4 separate regions of the Homo sapiens genome follow, and all the other regions are linked to region 4. The links are contacts of gene promoters, found by promoter capture Hi-C in blood cells and fetal thymus (Javierre and others, 2016). All regions are on one chromosome and are shown on one strand. Each heading gives the region's core, a stretch centred on a gene start or on the middle of the fragment in contact. The rest is flanking DNA. Distances are from core to core; before and after follow the strand shown. Region 1 overlaps EIF3A (eukaryotic translation initiation factor 3 subunit A). Region 2 has its middle 3.0 kb from the start of DENND10. Region 3 has its middle 7.0 kb from the start of PRDX3. Region 4 holds the start of MCMBP (minichromosome maintenance complex binding protein).

Region 1 (3,282 bases), core at 174-2,673, 830 kb before region 4:
ATGAGGCTGGGCGCAGCGCCTCACACCCGTTATCCCAGCACTTCACTTTGGGAGGGAGAGGCAGAAGGATAACTTGGGCCCAGGAGTTTGAGACCAGCCTGGGCAACATAGCGAAACCCCGTCTCTCCAAAAAATAAAATATTAGCAGGGTGTGGTGGCATGCGCCTGTAGTCCTAGCTACTCAGAAGGCTGAAGTGGGAGGCTCCCTAGGGTCCGGGAGGTCAAGGTTGCAGTGAGCCATGACTGCACCACTGCATTCCAGCCTGTGCAACAGAGCAAGACCCTGTCTCAAAAAAAGTAAAGTAAAATGAGTTCCTCCTTGCATAATCTCTCAGTTGGCAAAAATAAATATATAAAGTACATTTTGGTTTCAATTATTTATTTTTAAAAGGAGGCTGGTTCCCAGTAAAACCTGAAAAATACACCAATACTGAAAGCATGAGTACAGGAAGAGCCTTCAAAGAAGCAGTCATCGAAGCAGAAGGAAAACAAAGAGCACATCACTAAAGAAGAGAGGGGTTGGGTTATTTATGTTTTGGATGGTGGTATTCTGAAGGCAAACTTTTGACAGCGAAGTCACTGCAAATGATACTGAAGGAAAGATGAAAGACCAGTTTATCTGGAAAATAACAATACAGCCCTGATATTTATCCATCAGAATTTCACTTTTACAGGTGAACACTTAAGCATATTCTAGGAAATAGAATTTTACCTGGCTTGACTAATGGTCTCCAAGGACCAGGTCTTGAGTCATCACCCCGTCTGGGAAACCGATCATCATCAGCACGTCTTGAAAGGCGATCATCATCCATGTTTCTCCAAGGGCCCCTGTCATCCTCTGCACCACGCCTGGGAATTCTGTCATCATCGGCGTTCCTCCAAGGTCCTCGATCATCATCCAACCCTCGCCTGGGACCCCGGTCATCATCCATGCCTCGCCTGGGACCCCGGTCATCATCCATGCCTCGCCTGGGACCCCGGTCATCATCCATGCCTCGCCTGGGACCCCGATCATCATCCAACCCTCGCCTGGGACCCCGGTCATCATCAGCATTACGCCAGGATGATCGCTCATCATCAGCGCCTCCTCGCCTCGGCCCCCGGTCATCATCCATCCCACGTCTTGGTCCTCTGTCCTCATCAGCTGTTCGCCAGCTTCCTCTGTCCTCATCCAGTCCTCGTCTAGGTGGTCTGTCATCATCCGCATGACGCCAGTTTCCCCTGTCTTCATCGGCAATTCGTCTGGGAGGCCTGTCATCATCTGTGTTACGCCAGGAAGGCCGGTCATCGTCTGCCCCACGACGAGAGAACCTATCTTCCTCAGGACCACGTCTAGGGCCTCTGTCATCATCCATGCCACGCCGGGGAACCCGATCATCGTCTGGTCTAAGAGAGGGCTCTCTATCTTCATCATCCCCCAGACGCCGGGGCCGCTCTTCATCTCTTCTATGAGACCTGTCCTCATCTCGCCCTTCTCCACGTCTCCACTCCCTACACAGCAACAAGAACAATTAAAAATATATAAAATAAAAAAGCATATGATCCTTTGGGGATTTTTTTTTTCACATGCTTTTTAAAAACTTCAGTATGGGCCGGAGCAGTGGCTCGCACCTTTAATCCCAGCACTCTGGGAAGCAGAGGCAGGCAGATCACCTGAGGTCAGGAGTTCAAGACCAGCCTGGCCTGGCAAAACCCATCTCTACTTAATTGTAAGACATGCGGCTGGGCACAGTCGCTCACACCTGTAATCCCAGCACTTTGGAAGGCCAAGGCGGGAGGATTGCTTGAGCCCAGGAGTTTGAGACTAGCCTGGGCAACATGTCAAAACCCCATCACTATAAAGAATATAAAAATTCACCAGGCGTAGTGGCCCACACCTGTAATCCCAGCACTTTGGGAGGCCGAGGCAGGCAGATTTCTTGAGGTCAGGAGTTCAAGACCAGCCTGGCCAACATAGTGAAACCTCGGGTCTACTAAAAATGCAAAAATTAGCCAGGCGTGGTGGTGCATGTCTGTAATCCTACTTGGGAGGATTACAAGTGCCTCCCAGCTACTTGGGAGGCACAAGAATTGCTTCAACCCAGGAGGCGGAGGCTGCAGTGAGCCGAGAACGCGCCACTGCACTCCAGCCTGGGTGACAGAGCTAGATTCTGTCTCAAAAACAAAGAAACAAACAAACAAAATTAACCAGGCATGGTGGAGCGCACCTGTGGTCCCAGCTACTCAGGAGGCTGAGGCAGGAGGATCACCTAAGCCCAGGGAGGTTGAGGCTGTAGTGAGCCGAGATCGCGCCACTGCACTCCAGAGTGAGACGCCATCTCAAAACAACAACAACAACAACAAAAACAACAACACAGGCCAAGTGCAGTGGCTCATGCCTGTCATCCCAGCAATTTGAGAGGCTGAGACAGTCAGATCGCTTGAGGTCAAGAGGTCAAAGCCAGCTTGGGCAACATGGCAAAACCCCATCTCTACTAAAAATACAAAAAGTAGCCAGGTGTGGTGGCACACACCTGTAATCCCAGCTATTCGAGAGGCTGAGGCACTTGAACCCAGGAGGCAGAGGTTGCAGGGAGCCGAGATAGCGCCACTGCACCCCAGCCTGGGCAGCAGACCCAAAAAAACAAAATACAAACCCACACGCAATCAGACATGCACACAATTCTTCATGGCTCTCCTTTCCCTGCCTCTACAAAATGAACCAAATTTTAAAACCACTGATAAGATATTAACAGGAACTGGAGCGGCATTATTTTCCTCAACTCTACTTACTTCTCTGGCGGGCCTCTTCTCCACTCAGAATCTGCTTCAGGTCCTTTTCTCCAGGTGCCTTCTGAATCTCTATCTCCCCAACGAGAGTCCTCCATTGACAAAGTGAAAAAGAAGCATTACATTGGTAACCATTTACTATTACAACTACTGGTATTACCATTCAAATATTTTTTGTACTTATAACAATATGAAGCCCTTAAATAAGCAAGTTTTAAAATTTCATTTATTTTTTAATCTGAGATCAGACTGACGCTACAGGGAAACTGGTAGTCTCATATATTGTAGGTGGCCTTACAAACCGATATAACACTGTGCTGGAAAGCAACCTGGGAACATACACCTCTACAGATTTCCTTCAACCTAGAAATCCCCTTTGAAGAATGTGAAAAAAGCCACATGCCCTGAAATGGACATCACAGTGCCTACGAAGCAAAGAAAGGTGGAGACATTTTATTTAATGTCTAATGGGGGTGGTTAAATTAACAGTACTTCTCTATTCAAAGTACTCTG
Region 2 (2,834 bases), core at 55-2,554, 770 kb before region 4:
CTTCCAGTTCCCAAGTGAGACTGAATCCCTTAAATTAAAAGAGCTTGGCCAGGCGTGGTGGATCACACCTGTAATCCCAGCACTTTGGGAGGCCAAGGCGGATGGATCACTTGAGGCCAAGAGTTTCAGACTAGCCTGGCCAACATGGTGAAACCCCATCTCTACTAAAAATAAAAAAAAATTAACCAGGCTTGGTGGCACACACCTGTAGTCCCAGCTACTTGGGAGGCTGAGGCAGGAGAATTGCTTGAGCCTGGGAGGCGGAGGTTGCAGTTAGTGGAGATCACACCACTGCACTCCAGCCTGGGTGACAGAGCAAGACTCCGTCTCAGAAAAAAAAAAAGGCTGGGCACAGTAGCTCACACCTGTAATCCCAGCACTTTGGGAGGCTGAGGTGGGTGGATCACCTGAGGTCAGGAGTTCGAGACCAGTCTGACCAATATGGTGAAACCCTGTCTCTACTAAAAATACAAAAATTAGCCGGGTGTGGTGGCCTGCGCCTGTAGTCCCAGCTACTCAGGAGGCTGAGACAGGAGAATTGCTTGAACCCAGGAGGCGGAAGTTGCAGTGAGCTGAGATTGCATCACTGCATTGCGACAGAGCAAGACTCCATCAAAACAAACAAACAAACAAAACAACAACAACAAAAAAAAACTGCCACCCTAATGGCTCCCTTGGCTGACACATGCCCAATCTATGATGGAATCCAATTACAGAAACAAAGATGAAAAAGAACCATATTTGACTCATAGGAACCTGGGATTGGAACACCTGGAAGATGCTGGGGTCCCTTGTGCACTTGTCCATGTGGCCAGACAGTTTAGGCACTTTCCAAATCTGCTTCAGTGCCAGTAACTTACTCTTTTTCTGCAGAGCAAGGAGTGAGCAGGCTGTGCAAAAAAGAATTCACACGACAGGCCTGAGGGTGATATCCATAGAAAGTCTGCTGGCCAGTTTGGCCCTTGGCTGTGCCTGGAAACTTGGACTTCGGCAGTGTTCCCAGCATTTCTAGAACTGATCAAACTGATCAGAGTGACAGACTATGCCTGAACTATTTGTACATACAATGTGGTTCATGAGAGTCTGGAAATCTGGTATGAGCTAGGCAGAGGGTACCTATGTGACTGGCCCCCAGTAAAAACTGAGTTACTTGGTGACTGAGTTCTAACAAGCTTCCCTGGTTGATAAATATCACAAGTATTGCCACAACTTGTTGCTGGAGGAATTAGGTGTGTCCTGTGTGACTCTACCAGGAAATAACTCTTGGGAACTTGGCCCTGGTTTCCTCCAGACATCACCCCATGTGCCTTTTCCCTTTGCTGATTTTGCTTTGTATTCTCTGGCTGTAATAAATCATAGCCCTGAGCTGGGGATGGTGGTTCACATGTGTAACCCCAGCACTTTGGAGCCTGAGGTGGGCAGATCGCTTGAGGTCAGAAGCTTGAGATCAGCCTACACAATATGGTGAGATCACATCTCAAAAAAAAAAAAAAAAAAATAGCTAGGCATGGTGGTGCCTGCCTGTAGTCCCAGCTACTCAGGAGGATGAGGTGGGAGGATAGCTTGAGCCTGGATCAAAGCTGCAGTGAGCCGTGATCGTGCCACTGCACTCCAGCCTGGGTGACAGAGTGAGACCCTGTCTCAAAAAAATAAAAATGTATATCATAGCCATGAGTATAGCTATATGCTGAATCCTGAGAATCCTTCCAACAAATCATTGAATTTGGGGGGTGGTCTTGGGGACCCTTTATATTCTTACCTATAAAATTAGGCTATTCTTATCAATAAAACTAGCATAAAGATTTTCCCTGATTCAAATCTTTATTGGGAGAGTCACGGAGGAAAGTATGGTTAGCTCCATTTGATCACTGAGAAAACATGCACAGAAAAGATAGGAAACATGTGTGAGGTTTCGCAGCTAAGATGGGCAAGGGGGTTGGAACTCAGGTTGTCTGTTTCCACACCCCAGCTCCATCTGTCTGTGACAGCGCAGAGGTCAGTCTTACTTTTAAAGATTGGGGATGCGTCGCCTCTGCTCTCTCCACCCTCTATTCCTTTTCCCTTCACTCTGGTGTACCTGTCTGGCAGGTAAGACAGCACTTGTGGAGAAACAGGAGGGAAGGAGGTGTCAATTCCAGGTATCATCCCACTCACTGGAGCCTGGACACACCCCTCATTATCTTTCCCCTCCCTGCACCCACTATCATCTCCCTCTCCTTTGTTTAATTATCTGTTCATCATCGTCTTCATCCTCATTTCTTTTCTTTTTTTTTCTGAGATGGAGTCTCACTCTGTCGCCCAGGCTGGAATGCAGTGGCGCGATCTTGGCTCACTGCAACCGTCCTCTCTTGGGTTCAAGCCAGTCTGCCTCAGCTTCCTGAGTAGCTGGGATTACAGGCACCTGCCACCATGCCTAGCTAATTTTTGTGATTTTTTGTTTGTTTGTTTTTGAGATGGAGTCTCGCTCTGTCGCCCAGGCTGGAGTGCAGTGGCGTGATCTCGGCTCACTGCAAGCTCCGCCTCCCGGGTTCACGCCATTCTCCTGCCTCAGCCTCACAAGTAGCTGGGACTACAGGCACCTGCCACCACGCCCGGCTAATTTTTTGTATTTTTAGTAGAGACAGGGTTTCACCGTTTTAGCCGGGTTGGTCTCAATCTCCTGACCTCGTGATCCACCCACCTCAGCCTCCCAAAGTGCTAGGATTACAGGCGTGAGCCACCGTGCCCCACCTAGTGCAAGTTTCTAGTTGGCTTCCAAACTGATTCCACATCTGTGTCCCACTCCTCAGCCTCTAAACACCTGCTTCTTTTCTGTGAAAACTAGACACATTAAC
Region 3 (2,834 bases), core at 132-2,631, 690 kb before region 4:
AAAGCAATTCTTTTTTTTTTTTTTTTTTGAGACGGAGTTTTGCTCTTGTTGCCCAGGCTAAAGTGCAATGGTGCGATCTCGGCTCACTGCAACCTCTGCCTCCCAGGTTCAAGTGATTCTCCTACCTCAGCCTCCTGAGTAGCTGGGATTACAGGCATGCACCACCACGCCCAGCTAATTTTGTGTTTTTAGCGGAGATGGGGTTTTGCCATGTTGGTCAGGCTGGTCTCGAACTCCTGACCTCAGGTGATTGGCCCGCAGGTGATCGGCCCGCTTCGGCCTCCCAAAGTGCTGGGATTACAGGTGTGAGCCACCGTGCCTGGCTGCTTCAAGGTAACATTACTTTCCGTCTTCCATGTAGCCCCATTCACCTGCGGCTGCCTTCAGTTAGATTTCCTGCATGATTCCTGCCCATTTTAGCCTCTGAAGTAATCTGTTTCCTGTCCTATTAGGTACCAAATAGAGAGCCCTCTGGTATTGGATCAATTAACAATGTGATTTTTTTTTTTTAGAATCTTGCTGTGTTGCCCAGGCTGGAGTGCAGTGGTGCAATCTCGGCTCACTGCAACCTCTGCCTCCTGGGTTCAAGAGATTCTTCTGCCTCAGCCTCCTGAGTAGCTGGGATTACAGGTGCCCACAACCACAACTAGCTAATTTTTGTATTTTTAGTAGAGACCAGGTTTTGCCATGTTGGCCAGGCTGGTCTTGGACTCCGGACCTCAAGTGATCCTCTCGCCTCGGCCTCCCAAAGTGCTGGGATTACAGGCATGAGCCACCGTCCCTAGCCAACAATGTGATTTTAATCATTAATAAACATGTACTGGAGAGGATCACTTAGACCCTGCTGCCGAGGAACTGTGTGTGTATCCAAGGAATACTGATAAAATCATTAAAAAAAAAACCCAGTCCAAGATTCAGCATTTTAAGAGGCATGAAAGAGGCATAATGGTTGAGTGTGGACAGCTGAGATTGACACACCAGCTCTGCTAGCTGCAGGCACGTGGCCTTGGGCAAGTTACTTAGCACATTTTCCCATCTGTAAAATTGAAATGATGTTAGTGCTTACCCCAAGGGCTTTTGTGAGGAATAAATGAGTTCATATTTTAAAGGCATTAGCACAGTCAGCAGGCACATAGTGTTCGTTATATTAAATAAAAGAGAGGTGCAAGTGAAGTGCTATCATGGTTTAGAGAAAGGGGCCAAGAAGGGCTTCACAGAGAAATCATCTATCCTGCTGCTTGGGGAAGGTGAAGGGGAAGATGGCAGGTGGAAGTGACTAGTGACCTTTGTCCCTTTGGTTTACTGTTATCTTCAGTGACCACACTATGGGGCTACGCTCTGGGTTGAATGCAGTATCTCTATTCCGTCTGCACAACCCTATGACACAGGTGCTTTTTCGGTTTGTTTTTTGTTTTGTTTTGTTTTGTTTTGTTTTAGAGTCTTGCTCTGTCACTCAGGCTGAAGTGCAATGGCATGATCTCAGCTCACAGCAAACTCCACTCCTGGGTTCAAGTGATTCTCCTGCCTCAGCCTCCCAAGTAGCTGGGATTACAGGTGCACACCACCACACCTGGCTAATTTTTGTATTTTTAGTAGAGATGGGGTTTCATCATGTTGGCCAGGTTGGTCTCGAACTCCTGACCTCAAGTGATCCGCCTGCCTCGGCCTCCCCAGGTGTAGGGATTACAGGTGTGAGCCATCACACCCAGCCACAGGTACTGTTTTTAATTCATCATCCCCATTTCCAAGGTGAGGAGACTGATGCTTGGGAAGGTTTAGTAATTTGTCCAAAGTCCCACAACTGGAAAGGGAAGGAGCCAGGATTTAAACCTTGAAAGCTGACTGCAGAGCCCCCATTCCTTTTCATTTTTATTGTTTTTTGTTTGTTTGTTTGTTTTTGAGACAGGGTCTCTCTCTGTCATCCAGGCTGGAGTGCAATGGCACAACCATGGCTCACTGCAGCCTCAACCTCCTGGGCTCAAACAATCCTCCCACCTCAGCCTCCCAAGGAGCTGGGACCACAAGTGTGTATCACCAAGCCCAGCTAATTTTGTTAGTTTTTGTAGAGAAGGGTCTTCCTATGTTGTCTAGGTTGGTCTCAAACTCCTGGGCTCAAGCAGTCCTCCTGCCTTGGCCTCCCAAAATGTTGGGATTACCGGTGTGAGGCCAGAGCCCCAACTCTTTTTTTTTTTTTTTTTTTGAGATGGAGTCTCGCCCTGTCGCCCAGGCTGGAGTGCGGTGGCGCAATCTCAGCTCACTGCAAGCTCCGCCTCCCGGGTTCACGCCATTCTCCTGCCTCAGCCTCCCGAGTAGCTGGGACTACAGGCGCCCGCCACCACACCTGGCTAATTTTTTTGTATTTTTAGTAGAGATGGGGTTTCACCGTGTTAGCCAGGATGGTCTCCATCTCCTGACCTCGTGATCCACTCACCTTGGACTCCCAAAGTGCTGGTATTACAGGCGTGAGCCACCGTGCCTGGCCAAGTGCCCCAACTCTTAAAGCAATATTGTATGACCTCCTACAGTATTTGTTGGAGCATAATGTGCTTGATGGGACATAATAGGAGATGGTACTATAAATGTGGGCTGTGTGAGGACATGAAGGAGCACTGACCATCTGTCCTTTAGTGAAATATCTCAAGTACTCCACTCCCAGGCACCAGGCCTCACTGTGGATTCTGTCCATTGATGCGGTACGCTGTGCTCTTTTGCCTAAGCATTTCTAATAGGTTCCGCCCCTGCAATTGATGTTCACCACCTTGGGGCCCACTCTACTCTCAGCCTTCTTTTTTTTTTTCTGACGGAGTCTCACTCTGTCACCCAGGCTGGAGTGC
Region 4 (3,020 bases), core at 388-2,887:
ATCTTCACTTGACATTTTGGGGCCATTGTGTTGACCATCGATTATCATTTCTAGAATTCTTATGAACATAAATTACTAGGATTTAGTGGAGAAATATATGCCCCTTCCTCAAAGCACCCTTGACTGCTATATAGTGAATTTTTTTTTTTTTCAAGTATGAAGGTAGTTTTAAATTTCTTCATCAGGCTGTCAGTGTTCACTGGCTAAGTTCGGACGTCTATCCAGGCTTTTTTCTAATATAATGCCATTAGTTACAGCCTGGGAAGCCAGGTAACTAAACTAATTAGAATTACAGGTAAATTAATAAGGACTTCCTGAGTAAGCACTAGAGGCCCTCCTATAAGAAATACCATACATTGTTTGCCGTCGATTTTGGCTGCTGAGGATGATTTAGCTTCCCACTGCCTTTTCTCTCTAGTACCCCAAGATGTTTTTTTCAATGAGCTAAGGCCGCTCTACAACTCTAAGTTAACTCCAGACAAGTCAGGTGTTGCCATCTACAGTGATTTCTAGCTGGATCTGACTCCGCCACTCATTACGTGTAAAAAGACACTGGGGAATGGAACGGTTGTCAAAATGCCCAGTTAACGACAACAAATATAAACTTTTCTTCGTATACCCTTCGCAGTAAAGTAGCAACAGCAATCGCAACCAAAATTTACTAAGCTCGCCTGCAGGATTCTCAGCCCTGTGTACAAACTCAAGTAGCTCAATATTTCTTGCTGGCTCTGGCACAGGAGCAGATCCAGACTAGATGGGTTCTAAAGTCATCCCAACAGGAAAACTAAGCTATGAACATTAAATCTTATCTCTGAAAGAGAGAATGAGGGTAGCACAGGAGTTAGAACCAACTTCTGTGCAAGCGAGCACTCCCCGACGCACCGGAAGTTTTGAAATATCCTGTGGGCTTCCCACAGGCAAAGTGGTTTTCCCTCCCCGCGGCTCTGCGGGCCCTCCCCAGGGTTCGAGGACCTCCGAGTTTGCTGCGCCCGGGGCCGGGGCCCTGGCCCTGCCACAGGCTGGGAGCGAGGCCGTCAATCACAGCCCGCGAATCACAGCCCGCGCCCCACGACTTCACCTTGGCGGCTCCCAAGCTGCGACTCGGGCAGGTGGGAGGTACCTGCGGCCCGGCTCCTGCCCCTGCCTGCTGCGACCGGGGGAGAGGCTGTCCCAGCTGGGGCCGGTGCAGGCCCCGGGGCCCCGTCTCGGGCCACGCGAGCCCTCGAGATGGTACCGCGTGGGGGCCGCGCGGCGGGGCCCTGCCCCGGGGCCCGGCAAACTCGGCTGCCCGCCCGGCCCGCCCCCCGGCGCCGCCACTCACCGAAGAATCCCTGCACGATTCCCAGCGGGTGGCTGAGCCAATCCTCCCCACACGGCATCTCGCCAGGGGCCGGGGCCGGCGAAGACCGGGCGGAGGCGATCCGCGGGCCGAGCGCGGCCGGGCGGCCGGCGCCCAGCTCCTCTTCAGCGGCTCGGCCGCTCCTCGCCCGCGTTCGCTCGCGCCCTCCCACGCACAGCGAGCCGCGGGGCGCGGGCCTCCCGCGCCTCAGGGAGCGGCGGCTGCGGTGGGGCCGCCGAGGAGCTGCTGGCGACAGTCAGGCGGGCGCGTACGGGCCCCTAGCCTTCACTTCGCACAATGGCGGGAAATAGCCGCCGCCGACCGCGCTGCCTGCGACCTGGGTGGAGCTCGCGTGGGGAGGGGCGGCGGGAGCGCGCGGCGCAGCGCGGCTCTGCGCGGCGAGGAGGAGGGGCGGCGGCGGCGCCGCCATCTTGGAGACGGGCAAAAGGAAGGGCACGCAGCGCCGCTGGAGGCTGCGCAGCGCGGGGCCCGGCGACGCGCTCCAAGGGCGGCGCGTTGTCGTTTGTACCCCTGGGCCGGCGTGTAGCGGGAACTCCCATAGTGGGCTTATAAGAGGGCAAAGCGAGTCTGCACAACAGCTGAAAAGCATTAAGCTCAGAGACCTCAGAGTCATCTCTGGGCAAAATTAGTGGGCGAAACCGCCTTGGGAATCCGCCCACCTCCTCTTCGTGCCTTTTTTTTCTTTTTTTGCTGATGGCAGCACTTTTATTTGGGTCCCCGGCCCGAAACCCTGAGTGGTGACTTTTCCCTCAGCTGCACAAGGTCTCCCTGAGGAAGGTGCACATTTAGAGAAGGGGAACCTCGGAGGACCCCACGCTCCTTCTGCAGTCGCGTCAGGCCCTGTGGCTCAGGGACGGTTCCTTACCGAGGGGCGGGCGCTCTAAACGCTCCGGGCCCGGCCTGCGCCCTGGTTGCGAACACCGGGTCGGCGTCTGTCTGGAAGCTGGCAGCCGCCGTCGGGGAGCGGTGCGAGGCTCCTGCACTGCGCGCCGCTAGGATACCCTGGAGAAGGAAGCTACGAAGACCGACTACAGCAGCCTTTTGCTGAGGCAATTTGGAAAATACCCAAGTTCAAGAGTGAAACTGTGGGAGTCGCTCTGAACCTCTTCTGGTTCAGGAGGCTGTCCGATAAAAAAGAAAAAAAGAATGAAACTGTGTCTCCCCTGGGCCTGAAATGTACCTAAGAAAACCCCAGGCCCATCAGATATATCTACTCAATGAAAAAAGGGCATGGTGACGGAAGGGGAATGACCTGAATGGAATCTACAAAGTGAGGAGCTGAAGGAAAAAAACGGAACCCGTGTCTCAAACCCTCCTTGGGGCTGTAGGAAGGGGGGAAAATCTTTCTACCTTTCTAGGTTCTCCACTGCGGCCCTTATCACAAAGCTCGGATTGGCAAAAGAAAAATTTAGTAACATGTACATCTTATATGGGCAAAACTCAAGGAAGAGTAACTCAAACAGGTGGCTTAGAATGGGGGAATTACGTAGCATTTACAATAAAGAACAATAACTGGGGAGAAATGGCGAAAGCAGTTTGAAGTTTCCAAAAACAGCAGAGTGGGAAGGCAGAGATACGAGAAACTAATGGTAGTTACAGGTAGTGAGTAAAGTGTGTTATGTAGGTTCTTCTAGCGCCATCGCTGGCTGATAAGGGTCTA

What was found. The method cuts DNA at HindIII sites, captures the fragments that hold promoters and counts their contacts. A CHiCAGO score of 5 or more calls a contact.
Region 1: a contact is called between a fragment that was not itself captured here and the fragment with the promoter of MCMBP in region 4, in 1 of 17 cell types (naive CD8 T cells). The highest score is 5.6, in naive CD8 T cells.
Region 2: a fragment that was not itself captured here is called in contact with the fragment with the promoter of MCMBP in region 4 in 1 of 17 cell types (fetal thymus); the score reaches 5.8 in fetal thymus.
Region 3: a fragment that was not itself captured here is called in contact with the fragment with the promoter of MCMBP in region 4 in 1 of 17 cell types (naive CD4 T cells); the score reaches 5.5 in naive CD4 T cells.

What each region holds. Positions count from the first base shown.
Region 1 is chr10:119,041,282-119,044,563 of GRCh38, forward strand. It overlaps EIF3A (eukaryotic translation initiation factor 3 subunit A), which reads right to left. Exons shown (of 22, transcript NM_003750.4): 18 at 2,773-2,861; 19 at 713-1,491. Among named protein-coding and RNA genes, the nearest start is that of NANOS1, 13 kb to the left of the region's middle. The HindIII fragment of the contact is 5,604 bases long and covers 1-3,282 here.
Region 2 is chr10:119,099,654-119,102,487 of GRCh38, forward strand. No RefSeq gene overlaps it. Among named protein-coding and RNA genes, the nearest start is that of DENND10, 3.0 kb to the right of the region's middle. The HindIII fragment of the contact is 268 bases long and covers 1,171-1,438 here.
Region 3 is chr10:119,184,382-119,187,215 of GRCh38, forward strand. No RefSeq gene overlaps it. Among named protein-coding and RNA genes, the nearest start is that of PRDX3, 7.0 kb to the left of the region's middle. The HindIII fragment of the contact is 3,528 bases long and covers 1-2,834 here.
Region 4 is chr10:119,871,206-119,874,225 of GRCh38, forward strand. MCMBP (minichromosome maintenance complex binding protein) reads right to left here and starts at 1,638. Exons shown (of 16, transcript NM_001256378.2): 1 at 1,322-1,638. The coding sequence starts at 1,379. RefSeq lists a silencer at 1,093-1,742 and enhancers at 1,973-2,132, 1,998-2,167. The HindIII fragment of the contact is 9,733 bases long and covers 1-3,020 here.